2 separate regions of the Homo sapiens genome follow, and region 2 is linked to region 1. Evidence: promoter capture Hi-C in human tissues and cell types (Jung and others, 2019). All regions are on one chromosome and are shown on one strand. The core of a region is centred on a gene start or on the middle of the fragment in contact, and the rest is flanking DNA. Distances in the headings are between cores, read along the strand shown. Region 1 holds the start of DIP2C (disco interacting protein 2 homolog C). Region 2 overlaps DIP2C (disco interacting protein 2 homolog C).

Region 1 (6,588 bases), core at 2,591-5,090:
GCGGGCACCTGTAATCCCAGCTACTCAAGAAGCTGAGGCATGAGAACCACTTGAACTCAGGAGGCGGAGGTTGCAGTGAGTTGAGCTCATACCACTGCACTCCAGCATGGGAGACAGAGTGAGACCGTCTCAAAAATTAAAAAATAAATAAGACATGAGTTTGTCTTTATGGGGAAGTTTTCTGCTTCCACTCCAATTTGTTTGGCAATTCCATGTAAAGTATCAGTTATTAATGAAATTATTTTTAGGCCCTTTAAAGCCACAAAAAAGAATACCCAATTATAAAGGGCAAAAATGTAGGGAAGAGAAGGGAGAAGAAAATATTCTGGGGAAAGGAGTATGAGAAAGCAGCCGCCACAGCCCTCTCATTCCTTGACCCTCCCCAGAATGGAGCTCCAGATCACCTGGAGGCCTCCCCACCCTCATGGCCTCCTCACCTGCAGGGCCTCCTCAGCCACAGGGCCTCCGCACCCTCACGGCCTCTCCACCTGCGGGGCCTCTCCACTAGCACAGCCTTCCCCCCACGTGGTCTCCCCACCTGCACAGCCTCCTCACCCGAGGGGCCTCCGCACCCTCATGGCCTCCCCACCTGCACAGCCTCCGCACCCACACAGCCTCCCCACCCGCACAACCTCCCCACCCACACAGCCTCCTGACCGTGTGGCCTCCTTACCTGCATGGCCTCCTCCCTGGCTCACACTCAGACCCAAGTATGTGAGGAGATGACCCCCCTGGCCACACAACCTGAATGTATCCCCACATGGATTCGAGGCCATCAGCTCCCACAAGAGGGCTGCCCAGCACTTCTCCCCACAGAGAGCCCTTGTGTTTTGCTGGCCGCATGCTCTGTGGTGTGAGCTGGCCTCACCTTCCCCTGTGAGGGGGCACAGGGCACGGGACAGGGACAGGCAGTGGAAGAAGGATGGAGCCCTCGGCCCCGCAGCAGGAAGTGCCCCTGCAGCCCTGCAAAGCAGGACACCAGCAGTGCATGTAATGGCGCCCAGCAGGCGGGCACAGCAGAACTGGACCAGGGTCTAGAAACCCACACAATGCGTAACCCACGCAGGCTGGCAGCCCACACAGGAACCTCAGGGGAATGCTCTACTCTTTCCTTCAGTCTATGTTATGTGCTTAAAACGGAACTTTTTCCATCCTCCTCTGTAGGAAATGAGCACTGGAAATTCCACATATGTTTCTATAATATTTTCTGATATTTTAATAAAATGATGACAACCAACTTAAAGAATTCTCTCCACTTGAATTTTGATTGAAGATGGGAAATAATTCAGCATTAACAGCTGTTTTCAGCTTTCACTCTGAAAGCAGATACATTGAGGAATTTTTGAAGTCCAATAACATAAAGAAACACAGAATTTTGATCCTTCAATTCTTGGATTTCTATTAAGCAATACTGGAAAACAAGTTGATTCATCTAATTTAAGCCTGTAAAACTGTTTTATGTGGTTATGAGACAGAGAATTCCAAATGACCTTACAGCACTACCCCCATAAACTCAACCTGGGCAAACCCACACTTCACAGCAAAGTTAAAGACCATCCAGCAAACAGATGAGGCAGTGGGGCCAGCACAGGCCGGAGGGTGCAGAGAGGCTGAATAGAGCCACGGAGCAACCCTCTCACCCTTTCTTCTTAAATGTGTAGCTCAGATCTCAGCAAGATTCATGTGGAAGGAAAAATATAATTAGGCTTCCTGCATGCAAACACACACACCCCTTTCTCTGCCTGGTCTCTCAATAAGAAACTAACTCATTAAGCCCTTTTTAAAAAACCTGTACAGACGCAAGGTGTTCACAGGGAATTCGGCTGAGCACACCTTCGTCGAAAGTGGCTTTGCCATCATCTGGGCAGCAAGACAGTATCACTCACCCTCCAAGAGCAACTGACAGGCAAGTGTCGTCACCTCAAAAGGCCACAATGCCCAACACAGGACACCCATTCCCATAGACATCCCAGACTCTGGGAACAAATGTGGGTCCAACTTCTGGGCTAGCAGTGGGTGGGGGAACCCTCAGATGGGGCTCGCCCTGCTGAGCTCAGGGGCGCTACGCTCTGCTGACCTGGATGGGGCACTGACACTTCACATCAGTGTGATGCAGGCAGCACAGAAGCCCCTGTCCTGAGACAGCGAACACGGAGGGTGCTGCAGGCAGGGGTGCACCTGGGCCGAGACGCAAGCCGGGAAACCTACCCAAGGCTGACACAATCAGATAACCAGGGTGGGCCTTTTGCAAATGATACACTCCTTACCCACCAAACGAGCTGTCTGCACTGCACAATCTACTTACCAGTTTACATCCGAACCCTGCACACGGCAGCTCCCGCCTCCTAGCCATGCCCTCCTCATCCTCAGCTCCTCAGGAGGGCAGCAGCCAAGCCCACAGGCCTGGAAGACTCTGCCCCCCGCCAACTGTGTCACGTTACAGGACACTGACACACCTCGCGGAACCCCACATCTGAAACTGAAAAACAGTACCATTTCCCGTCCCCAGAAGTCTGGAAAGGCAGTTGGCTGCACACCATGGCCCCTGCTCACTCCCTTCTTTGCCCTGAAAGTGTTAAAAAGGAAAACATAAAGTCAACACCAGCTCCTCCCTGCCGGTGAAAATTGGCACGAATGAGTTTACTTTCTGGCTGCCGGCCCTCACAAAACCGTTACCCAAAAAAAGTTCACCATGCTAAACTGCTCCAAATATAAATGTGAGACGCGCCGGCCCACCCCCACCCCACCCCACGTTACAGGAATGGCCTGACCAGGATGAGCCCAGAGACGGCTAAATGCACATCAAACATTTCAGATTTGGGAACTTCAGTGGTTTTGGGGAAAAGACCTGGCAAAGCCCGATCTGAAACTTATGACAGTTGAGCACATGATCTCCGCCATGAAGAGCAAATAAGAGGCGTACACAACCCTCCATAAGACCGCGGTGGCTGATCTGCCACAAACCCTCCTACGAGAGGACCAGGACGGCAAGGCCGGAGCCCGGCCCGGGGGGAGGTTGACGATTCCGCCCAGCCCTCCCCGCGCAGCGCCCGCGAACAATGGGGGTGGGATCCCCCGGGCCGCGCCAGGACCGCTGCACGGCCTGAGCCACCAGAGATCGAACCCGGGGTCCAACGACAAGTTTCGCATTGAAATCTGGCCGGGCGTTCCAGGCCGAACCCGCCAGCGAGGAGGTGGCGCGCACCGCGCTGCTGCACCAAGGACGCCGCGGCTCCAGCGCAGAGCGCACGGGAAGGCCGATCCCGCCGGGCCCGCTGCATCCTGCGTCCCCGCGCGGCGCCCAGGCCCCACAGACACCCCCAGGGCGCGGGGGGATCGCGGCCCCACAAACATCCCAGGGCGCGGGGGATCGCGGCCCCACAAACACCCCCAGAGCGCGAGGGGATCCCAGGCCCCACAGACACCCCCAGGGCGCGGGGAATCGCGGCCCCACAAACGTCCCCAGAGCGCGGGGGATCGCGGCCTCACAAACGTCCCTAGGGCGCGGGGTCTGGGGGTCCGGGGGACGCGCACGCTCCGGGCTGGGGTCGCACCTCCCCCTCCGGGCCCGGCCCCCGCCCCGCCGCAGGCCCCGCGCCCCCAGCCCTCCGCGCGCGGCCCTCCCCGGTGACAGCGCGGCCCGGCCCGGGGCGGGGGCCCGGTTACCTTCCGACAGCTCCAGCTCCAGCTCGGCCAGGCGCGCCCGCACCTCCAGGGGCAGCGCCATGCCCTCCAGGCTGCGGTCCGCCATGCTCCGCGGGCGCCGCGCCCCGCACGGCCTCCTCTTTGTTCGCAGGCGGAGGTCTCGGCGGCTCCTCGCGCCCGGCGGAACCGCACCGAGGAGGAGGCGGCGGCGCGGGCGCGGGAGGCGGGCGGCGGGCGCGCAGGGACCTCCCTCCCCTCGGCGCCTCCTCAGCGCGGCCCCGCCACGGCCGCCTCGCGCGCCCCCGCGCCCCACGGTCCCCGGCCCGCCCCGCGCGCGCTCGGCCCCTCCCCGCAGGCGCTGCGGACCCGGACCCGGCCCTGCTGCTCTCGGCCCCGGCCCGGCGGGAGCGTCTCTGCGCGCGCGCGTCACGGGGCCGCGGGGGCAGGGCGCGCGCGCGCGGGGCGCGAGGACGCGCAGGAGCGGGAGCGCGCGGGGGGGCGCGCGGCCGCGTCGGCGAAGCGCGCGCTCCCGGGGGCGCGCTCGGGGGCGGGTTGGGGGCTCGGGGCCCGCGGGGCGGGGCGGGGCGGGGCGGTCTTGTCTGTCCTGGGCTCTGCGCGTCCAGCGGAGCCTGCGGGCCCGGCCCCAGAGCCTGGTCCACCCGGCTCCCTGCGAAAATCACGTCCTGGAGCCGCAGCTTGACGTCTGCGCGAAAACTCGCAGTGCCCCGGGTCTTGGAGGGCTGGTTTTTTGTTAATGAACATTTTAAGAGGCGGAGACGGAGCGCTAGGCTGGAAGTTTCGAATGCAACGACCAGCAGATGACCTTGAGCGACTCTGAGCCTTTGCCTGGAGGGTCAGTGTCCCCATCTGTGAAAAGGGGATGGGAAGACAAGGTTGGGTCACCTAATCTCCAAATGCCAGGTGGGCCCGAAAAGCCTGGCTCCAGCCCTCCCGGAACAGGCTGCAGGCCCCAGGGTTCCCACCGTCCTTCTCCTTGTGGGGCCATCAGCTCCCAGCCTCAGTGCCACCTCGGCGAGGCTGAAGCCCCGTCTGTGCCTCTAGTCCTGACCATCTGGGGAGGCCCTCGCATCTCCAACCGTCCACTGAGCAAACTTCCCTGGAAGCCCCTAGACACCCCAAACGCCACAAACCCTAAATGAAGCCAGCTGCTTCCAGTGACTCTTAGTCACTGGAAGTTCTGCTTCTCAGAACCGCCCCCGTTGTCTTCATCATCACCTTCCTCTGTCTCCACACATCCTCCCCAGTCTGTTGCACAAAGCCCCGACGACCTGGCCTCCTTTTCATCCTTGTACCCCCTCTTCCCAGCCCGGCCCCTCCCTTAGGCCCAGAGCTTCCTAAAGACCTCCTCGCCTCCCCGTCCTCCACGGGACATTGGCCAGCGCTGGCTCCCGGAGGCCCAGCTGCACTCACTCCCCTTTCAGAGTGGGCCGCAGGAACACAGGTCCCCCACCTCACCCCCCTACCCCTACCCCCCACCACCCCCCCACCCCGCTTCGACCGGAGCCCCCACCAGCCGGGACCCACCTGCACGGCAGCCTTGCGGCCTCCACACTCCGGCTCCTGCAAACAACGCGGCTGACCCGCAGCACCTCTGCTCCCGGCCTCCACCCCGGAGAGCCTGCCCCTTCTCTGCCCCTGCCACCCACAGCCATCCCTGACCCCAGGTCCAGAACAATCTCTCTCCTTTCTCTTCCTGCACCGGCCACTTCCCGCCCTCATCACGTTTGACCTTTTTTATCTTCTCTGTATTCTTTGTGAGTGTAAGCGCCTGGAGGACAGAGCCCATGCCTCACCCACCTTTGCCCTTCCCATGGATCTAGCAGTGGTGGCAACCGCCAGAGGTGTGTGCATTTCCTGTAAGGATCGGTCCTTTCAGTGGGGAATTGTGAGAATGACATTCGACGATGAGCTGGGAAACAGGAACCCCAAACCCGTGTGCTTCCTGCGCCGAGCCGTGTGCCTCCGCCTGGTGTGCGCCGTGGGTTCGTCCTTCGCTCCAGACTGCGTTCAATGCAACAGATACGGGTGGCACAAGCATGTGGCCCCACCATCATCTCTCCCCTTTGCATGATAAAGAGACCGACCAGCAATGCAGGGGCCGTGGGGAAGATCCCACACAGCCCCTACACGTCACAGATAAAAGTCCTTAGAGACAGAAAGGGGAGCAGAACCAGGATTCAAACCCCAGTCTCCAAAGCAAAGCCCTGAGTTCATTTCATTACAGCAAAGATGCACTGTGCATTCCAAGCAATAAATGGTGTCAAGTCCATTTAGGGCGGTATAATGTCGGAATAAAAAATATATATTCGCGGGCCAGGCACGGTGGCTCACACCTGTAATCCCAACACTTTGGGAGGCCAAGGCAGGTGGATCATGAGGTCAGGAGTTCAAGACCAGCCTAGTCAATATGGTGAAACCCCATCTCTACTAAAAACTACAAAAAATTAGCTGGGCATGGTGGCACACACCTGTAGTCCCAGCTACTCAGGAGGCTGAGGCAGGAGGATCACTTGAACCCGGGAGGTGGAGGTTACAGTGAACCGAGATCGCACCACTGCACTCCAGCCTGGGTGACAGAGCGAGATTCAGTCTCAAAAAAAAAAATACATATATATATATATATATATATATATATATATTCTTTTTGATGGGCCTTAATCATTTGCATATGATCCTATGACTGATGTTGGTTGCAAAGAAAACTTGTAATTTGCATTAAACACATCAATTGCAAACTCAGATTTTGAGCTGATGGTTCCTTTCAGCAGGTCTTTGGGCACCTACACATTACACGTGTGAGTGTGGGCTCTCGGTCTTAGACTGCCATTTCCAGGAGCCTGATAGATATCATCTTTATCTGGAACTCCTACCATCTCCTTGAAATTCATGCTGTCCACAATCAAACTCATCCTACCTACCAAT
Region 2 (6,649 bases), core at 1,324-3,823, 270 kb before region 1:
CAGGCATGAGCCATCATGCCAGCCTTTTAGTTACTACTTTCTTTGTAAAGCTGAAGCAGACAGAAAATAGCCTGACAATCTGCCCCTCCATGGCCTCTTATCCACAGAAAAAAGAGAAACGCACTTCTCTGCTACCGTTAACCATGTGCAAAAAGCTTACAGACTGTATTAATTGTACTGAAGACTTAAGGGAAAGGCGGTTTCTCTGGCCTTCTGAAAAAGTCCCTTGGAAACCGATTTTGATTTTTCTGAGTGATACATACCAGAAAGTTTAGATAGACATTTTTTCTAACTACCAATCTTTGCTGAAAGCATGCATTTCAATAAATCACACATGTATTTAAGATCTAACATCTTATTAGAGCTATGGTCACTGCTTCAAGCAGCCATTTCTGGTTTTAACTCAAAAAATATTTAACAAATAACTTTTTATATTGAAATCAAATAGTTTTCCTAAAGAGTTTCTTGAGATTCCATTTATTTCTGTGCGGAAACATAAGGCAGCACAAAATCAATCAGTCACCAGAAGTAACAGACACTGAGCTTTGTGTGTTTGGGAGTGGCTGCGCGAGGGGGTGGGCAAAGGGCAGAGGGTAAACCTCCGGATTACCTTAAGTGAGGATTTAAACAGACACTGAGCTTCGTGCGTTCGGGAGTGGCTGCGCGAGGGCGTGGGCAAAGGGCAGAGGGTTAGCCTCGGGATTACCTTAAGTGAGGATGTAAACGGACACTGAGTTTCCTGCGTTCGGGAGTGGCTGTGCGAGGGGGTGGGCAAAGGGCAGAGAGTGAGCCTGGGGATTACCGTAAGTGAGGATGTAGAGGGGCTTCCCGTTGGTGTCCATGGTGGTCAGGCAGGGCGCCTTGGGCGAGATGGTGCCCCACCTCTGCAGTGCGGCCTCCAGCGACGGCGGCCAGTTCGTGACCACGCCCAGCTGCTCTCCGCGCATGGCCAGCATCTGGGCCCCCTCCGGCTTTGGTTGGTTCGGATCCGGTTGTTGAACTAAATCGTTTGAATACAAGAGGTTACAAGAGAAATGCATCCACATTAGCATGGCTACTTTTTATTCTTTATAAAGAAGCCAAGAGATTTATACTTAAGCTGTACATTTATTAGCTGACAGAAAAGCATGCTTTTCTAGAATTGGGGTCTATACACTAGCATCACGGATGCTGGTAAAAAATTAGTTCTTGTAATTTCCAAGGCAGCATGTGGGTAGAGCGCTTAGGTGGACCTGCACACAGCTGCAAACTGATAACAGGTGGAAACTGCGCTGCACACTGTGCCCAGAGGCTGGAATTCAAACAGCCATGCTGAAATTTCCATTACCAACATCAGCTAGTGATTTTGGACCCCAAATTGCTTAAATCTTGCTAAATTATATTTTGTCCTGAAAGATTAATGATAAATATATTTTCTGAGGCAGGGTCTCTCTCTTTTGCCTTGGCTGGAGTGCAGTGGCATGATCACAGTTCCCTGCAGCCTCGACCTCCCAGGCTCAGGTTATCCTCCCACTTCAGCCTCTGCTACAGTCCTAGCCTGTAGCTAGGACTACAGGCATGCACCACCACGCCCAGCTAATTTTAGAGTGTGTATGTATGTGTGTGTGTGTGTGTGTGTGTGTGTGTGTGTACATATATATATATATAATGTGTATATATATAATGTGTATATATATATAAAATGTATATATATTTTGTAGAGACAGGTTTGGGCAATATATATATACACACACATATATATTTGTGTGTGTGTGTGTGTGTGTGTGTGTGTGTGTGTGTGTATATATATATATATATTTTTTTTTTTTTTTGGTAGAGACAGGGTTTTGCCATATTGCCCAGGCTGGTCTCGAACTCCCAGGCTCAAGTGATCTGCCTACTTTGACCTCCAACAGTGCTGGAATTATAGGCATGAGCCACCGCACCTGGCCTGAGCTGTACATTTAAATCTGCTACAAGTACTCTGAATAACAGGAACACGGAGTGAGTATTTTCCTGAGTAAAACTAAAATCAGTGCATCATAAATACCACCTGCCCAATCCTTGAGAGAGGTGAAGAATGGAAATTATCTCTTCCATTTCTGGAACAGACTTGTCTGTCACTTTATGACTGACAAAATCAGTCGTTTCTACTTGTGGTTTAACACATAAGATACTAAGGAGCTCAAGTTTGCTACAATGAGCAGTTCTTGTGCTTTATTTCAACTTTAAGTTGTTTGTCTAAAAAGACCCAGGAGCATTCAGGGGCAAAGGCAGCAGCTCCGGCACCTATAAGGAGAGGCAGCAGGAGGAGGGAGGAGACAGCACTTCACACGCCAGTTTTGCTGCCAGCGAAGGATTTCCCCAGTTTACTTGTTTTTCTACATGTTTATACTTTACTTGTATTTCTATACTCTTACAGAGTTCTTAGAGAGAGACCTGACCTGGGTCACAGAACAAAATCAACTCCCACAGAGGACGACTAACAACCAGGTTTAGAGACCTGCCGACACCAAGGCTGCCTGGGAACATCACCCGCTCCCTACCTGGGTTCCCATCATGCGGCAAATGCCACGATTACTGCTCTTAAAAAGTAAAATAGCCTTGCAGAAAAAAATATCATTGTTTACGGGACCATAGGAGCATCTGGAAGAAACGTGTGGTAAAGAGTTCTCTCACCTTCTAATAATTCTTCAAAGTCATCGACAAAGAATTCTCGTAAAGGTGGTCGTTTCGGTCGTTTGAGGGTATTGACAAGCTGCTGGATTTTTGCTGACACCCGGCTACTTACTGGTACTCCTGAAAAACAGGAATCAGCGGGTGGGGAAAGCGATCATCACAGCTTCAATGAGCACCCACAGTCCCACAGTCCCACAGCCCCCTCCCCAGCGCGGCTACAACAGGCTGCATCCTAGATGCGATCCTGGGAAGGGCCCGAGGTGATCATGCTGTACGGTAGCCCCGTGGCTAGGCAGGAGACCGGACAGAGATACATCGGACCCGAATGTCTACCACGTTCCAGGATGTGCTGTTCTGCTGGTCATGCTGGGAGGAGCCTCAGGGCCACACCTGCTTGACCCCAGCTCTGATTCTCAGGACAGAATTGTCACCTGCAGAGGGCAGACTCCTCATTCCCACTGCCCCAGGCCCCCTCTTCTCAACAGGGTGAGACCATCCGTGGAGCAGTAAGTCCTTCCCTGCGTCTATCTCTCCAGAGACCACCAGCATTCAGCCTCACACCAGCATTCAGCCTCATGGAGGCACGAGAACATCGGGCCGCTGAGTCACGTCTGGAACCCCCAGCATCCCACAGCCCCGGGCTCAGGTTTCAGCACCACCACGCCCAAGCCCTGTCCACTCCTAATAAAGACTGAGCTCCTCACACGCGTTCCAAACCCACGCAGCTCAGCCCACACACAGGCAATGCATCCTAAAGCACAGAAGTTAAAGTCTCTAAATTCAAATTTTTGTGTAACAGAATACTAGCCCCTACCTATCCAAGTGGACCGAGAAAAGCCCCATTTTAAAATACTGTGCTAATTATAATGAATGCTGCACCATTCTGAAAATCAACTGGTTTGATCAATGAAAGAGTCAAGGTTTTCAAATTTTAAGATAAATAAATCAAATGAACAAGACAGAGGACCAAGACGCTGATGCCACAACTAGATCAAAAGCGTCCTCCTCAGGCACACGCTGCAGGCCGGCAGGACCTGGGAAACCATCACCCAGAGCTGTGGGCTTGGACGGTGCAGGGGTCTCTGTAGGTGCAGCTGGCAGTCCATTCCCCTCACCTGAGGCAGAGCCCTTGTTCGCCCCCGCACTGGACCATAAAAAACAGACTTCAACATTTGCGGGGAATAGAACAGAATTCAAGGAAATTTTTTCTATCAAGATTTTTTAATAGGTAGTCTCAAAATGCTCTATAGCACTTTAAGAATTGAGACATTAAATATTTCATATCTCTGAAAATACAGAAAAACACACAATCCAGAACTCTCAATATCCACACATAGTATGTTCCCATTAAATAGCCCAACTAATTTGGTTCAGATGAATCATACCATTCCACCAGGCCAACGATTCTCAAGCTTAATTTGGCAGATGTCAGAATTGCCTCAGGGACCCCCGAACTTCTAGCTCATGACGTCTGGGGTGTGACCCAGAATCACCCTCCCAGCAAGGGCCCCTGTGGGATTCTGGTGTGGGAGGCTATGACACGCCGAGACAGCACAACACACCACGCAGGATTTACCTGGGGAACAAAGGCAAAGGTACAGACTTGAAAGACGACAAAGTTACTAAAATGACAAGAATAACAAAAATGGCCAATTTAGTAAAGACGAACTCATCAGAGAACTAAAGCAAATAATGACACCAAAAGGCATTCCAGGAAAAGTCATCGCACTGGCAATCAGGGCGATTTCAAGCGCACTAACTGGACACTTACGAAGGCACAGTTGGGCTCTGCCTCACGTGAGGATGTGGCAGTGCGCCTGTTGGAGCTAGGATAGGCATCCCTGTCTGCCTGCGCCTGTCAGGGCTCGGATAGGCCTCCCTGTCCACCTGTTCCTGTCAGGGCTCGGATAGGCCTCCCTGTCCGCCTGTGCCTGTCGGCTCAAATAGGCCTCCCTGTCTGCCTGCGCCTGTCAGGGCTCGGATAGGCATCCCTGTCCACCTGCACCTGTCAGGGCTCGGATAGGCCTCCCTGTCCACCTGTTCCTGTCAGGGCGCGGACAGGCCTCCCTGTCCACCTGCACCTGTCAGAGCTCGGACAGGCCTCCCTGTCCACCTGCACCTGTCAGGGCTCGGATAGGCCTCCCTGTCCACCTGTTCCTGTCAGGGCTTCGATAGGCCTCCCTGTCCACCTGCACCTGTCAGGGCTCGGATAGGCCTCCCTGTCCACCTGCACCTGTCAGGGCGCGGACAGGCCTCCCTGTCCACCTGTTCCTGTCAGGGCTTCGATAGGCCTCCCTGTTCACTGCACCTGTCAGGCCTCAGATAGGCATCCCCGTCCACCTGTCGGAGCTCGGATAGGCCTCCCTGTCCACCTGCACCTGTCAGAGCTCGGACAGGCCTCCCTGTCCACCTGCACCTGTCAGGGCGCGGACAGGCCTCCCTGTCCACCTGTTCCTGTCAGGGCTTCGATAGGCCTCCCTGTTCACTGCACCTGTCAGGCCTCAGATAGGCATCCCCGTCCACCTGTCGGAGCTCGGATAGGCCTCCCTGTCCACTGTGCCTGTCGGGGCTCTGATAGGCCTCCCTGTCCGCCTGTGAGTCCCGTGCACCGCAAGATGACAGCATACCAAGGCTGCTCCATGCAGCTTCACACAAGGGCATTGTATTTCACCGCTAGGTTCTACCCTGACTTTTATGACCTCGGGAAGGACTGAGACCTAAATGGAATAGGGGCTGAGTGACACGAACAGCCGCTGTAGTCAGAATATACCAAGACTGGGCCACAAAGAAGGAAGGAAGAAGCCCTCGGCCACAGCCTGTTACCAAGTCACCGATATCTCTGTCCAACGTGGATAAAAAGACCCTCTTTCCTCCAAAGTCTAAAGCAACATATCAGCCCATCTGACAGTAATTCTGTTGTACATTTAACTTCATCTTGCTCTTCTAAGTGACTGTTCATGGTCTTAACACACCTGTACAAGAATTTCTCAGTTGCTGAACCACCGTTATTCAGCAGCAAAAACGGCAGCAAATTCTAAAATTTCTTTTTCTTCTCATGACTAAATTCCTACAACATTTACATTTTTCCTACAAGGAATAACTGTGGGCTCACTTGGAGAATATTTGCATTTTTGTGGCTAGGCCACCTTCCATGAGAGGCTCCCGAAGATCTGATAAATTGGCTTTGTCAGAACCGATTGTACCCCAGGAAGAAACACATCCAGTCATGGGCACGGAACGGGACGTCAGCACAAACCGTTTACCAGAAAAAAACGCATCTCTCCTTTGGGACGTACCATCCCCGGTCTCCATGAGCTCGGCGTTGCCGTACTTGGGCGCTGTCCGGGACCCCGTGGAACCCTGCGGTCTCTCCACCTGTATCGAGTGCTCTGAGGTGTACGTGGTTACGTCAGGAGGTGCAGAATGATTTTCTGTAAAGAAACACATCATGAGATTTTCTGGTGGTTGTGATGTTTGCTCTGAAGGTGGAACAAGCCACAGCCCAGGAAGAGACTGAAGCACAGGTGCTCACCCTGGGTGTGCCATGGAAAGCCAGAGCCGATCTCAGCCGCATCTGCCACACACATCCAGCACAAAGGGGGACCCCAGCATAACTCATGTTGCCGCAAATGGAGCAGAGTTCGGTAAAACCTCAGACGTAATTTCCTAACGGGAGCCATGTCAGCAGCATTTTAACTAGAATAACGTTAGACTGGCAATGGCAGGGCGTCAGGAACCCTGTGTGTGTTCACGGAGGGGTCCTGTTTCCTGTCTGCCACAGTCGACGCAGCCAAAGGCCTGGAATTGGAAACCCGGCTCTGGAAACTTCTGGGGATTTTGGGATGTCCCTTAAGCTCTCCGTGCCTCAGTTTCTTCGTCAAATGGGAACAGTAATGGCCATGACCGTGTAGGGTAGTTGGGTGGATTATGTGAGTTAACACGTATACAGTTCATAGGATCTTCTTCATAAAAGGGGGAGACATCAAGAACT

Evidence for each region. Contacts are between HindIII fragments. The study calls those that stand out against the background at their distance.
Region 2: a fragment that was not itself captured here is called in contact with the fragment with the promoter of DIP2C in region 1 in 4 of the 25 tissues and cell types used here (H1 embryonic stem cells, IMR-90 fibroblasts, bladder and 1 more).

The regions. Positions count from the first base shown.
Region 1 is chr10:685,828-692,415 of GRCh38, forward strand. DIP2C (disco interacting protein 2 homolog C) reads right to left here and starts at 3,841. Exons shown (of 37, transcript NM_014974.3): 1 at 3,667-3,841. The coding sequence starts at 3,751. RefSeq lists an enhancer at 4,216-5,151. The HindIII fragment of the contact is 17,538 bases long and covers 1-6,588 here.
Region 2 is chr10:413,111-419,759 of GRCh38, forward strand. It overlaps DIP2C (disco interacting protein 2 homolog C), which reads right to left. Exons shown (of 37, transcript NM_014974.3): 6 at 5,955-6,089; 7 at 2,659-2,778; 8 at 803-1,000. Among named protein-coding and RNA genes, the nearest start is that of DIP2C-AS2, 210 kb to the right of the region's middle. RefSeq lists an enhancer at 2,412-3,611. The HindIII fragment of the contact is 5,876 bases long and covers 1-5,511 here.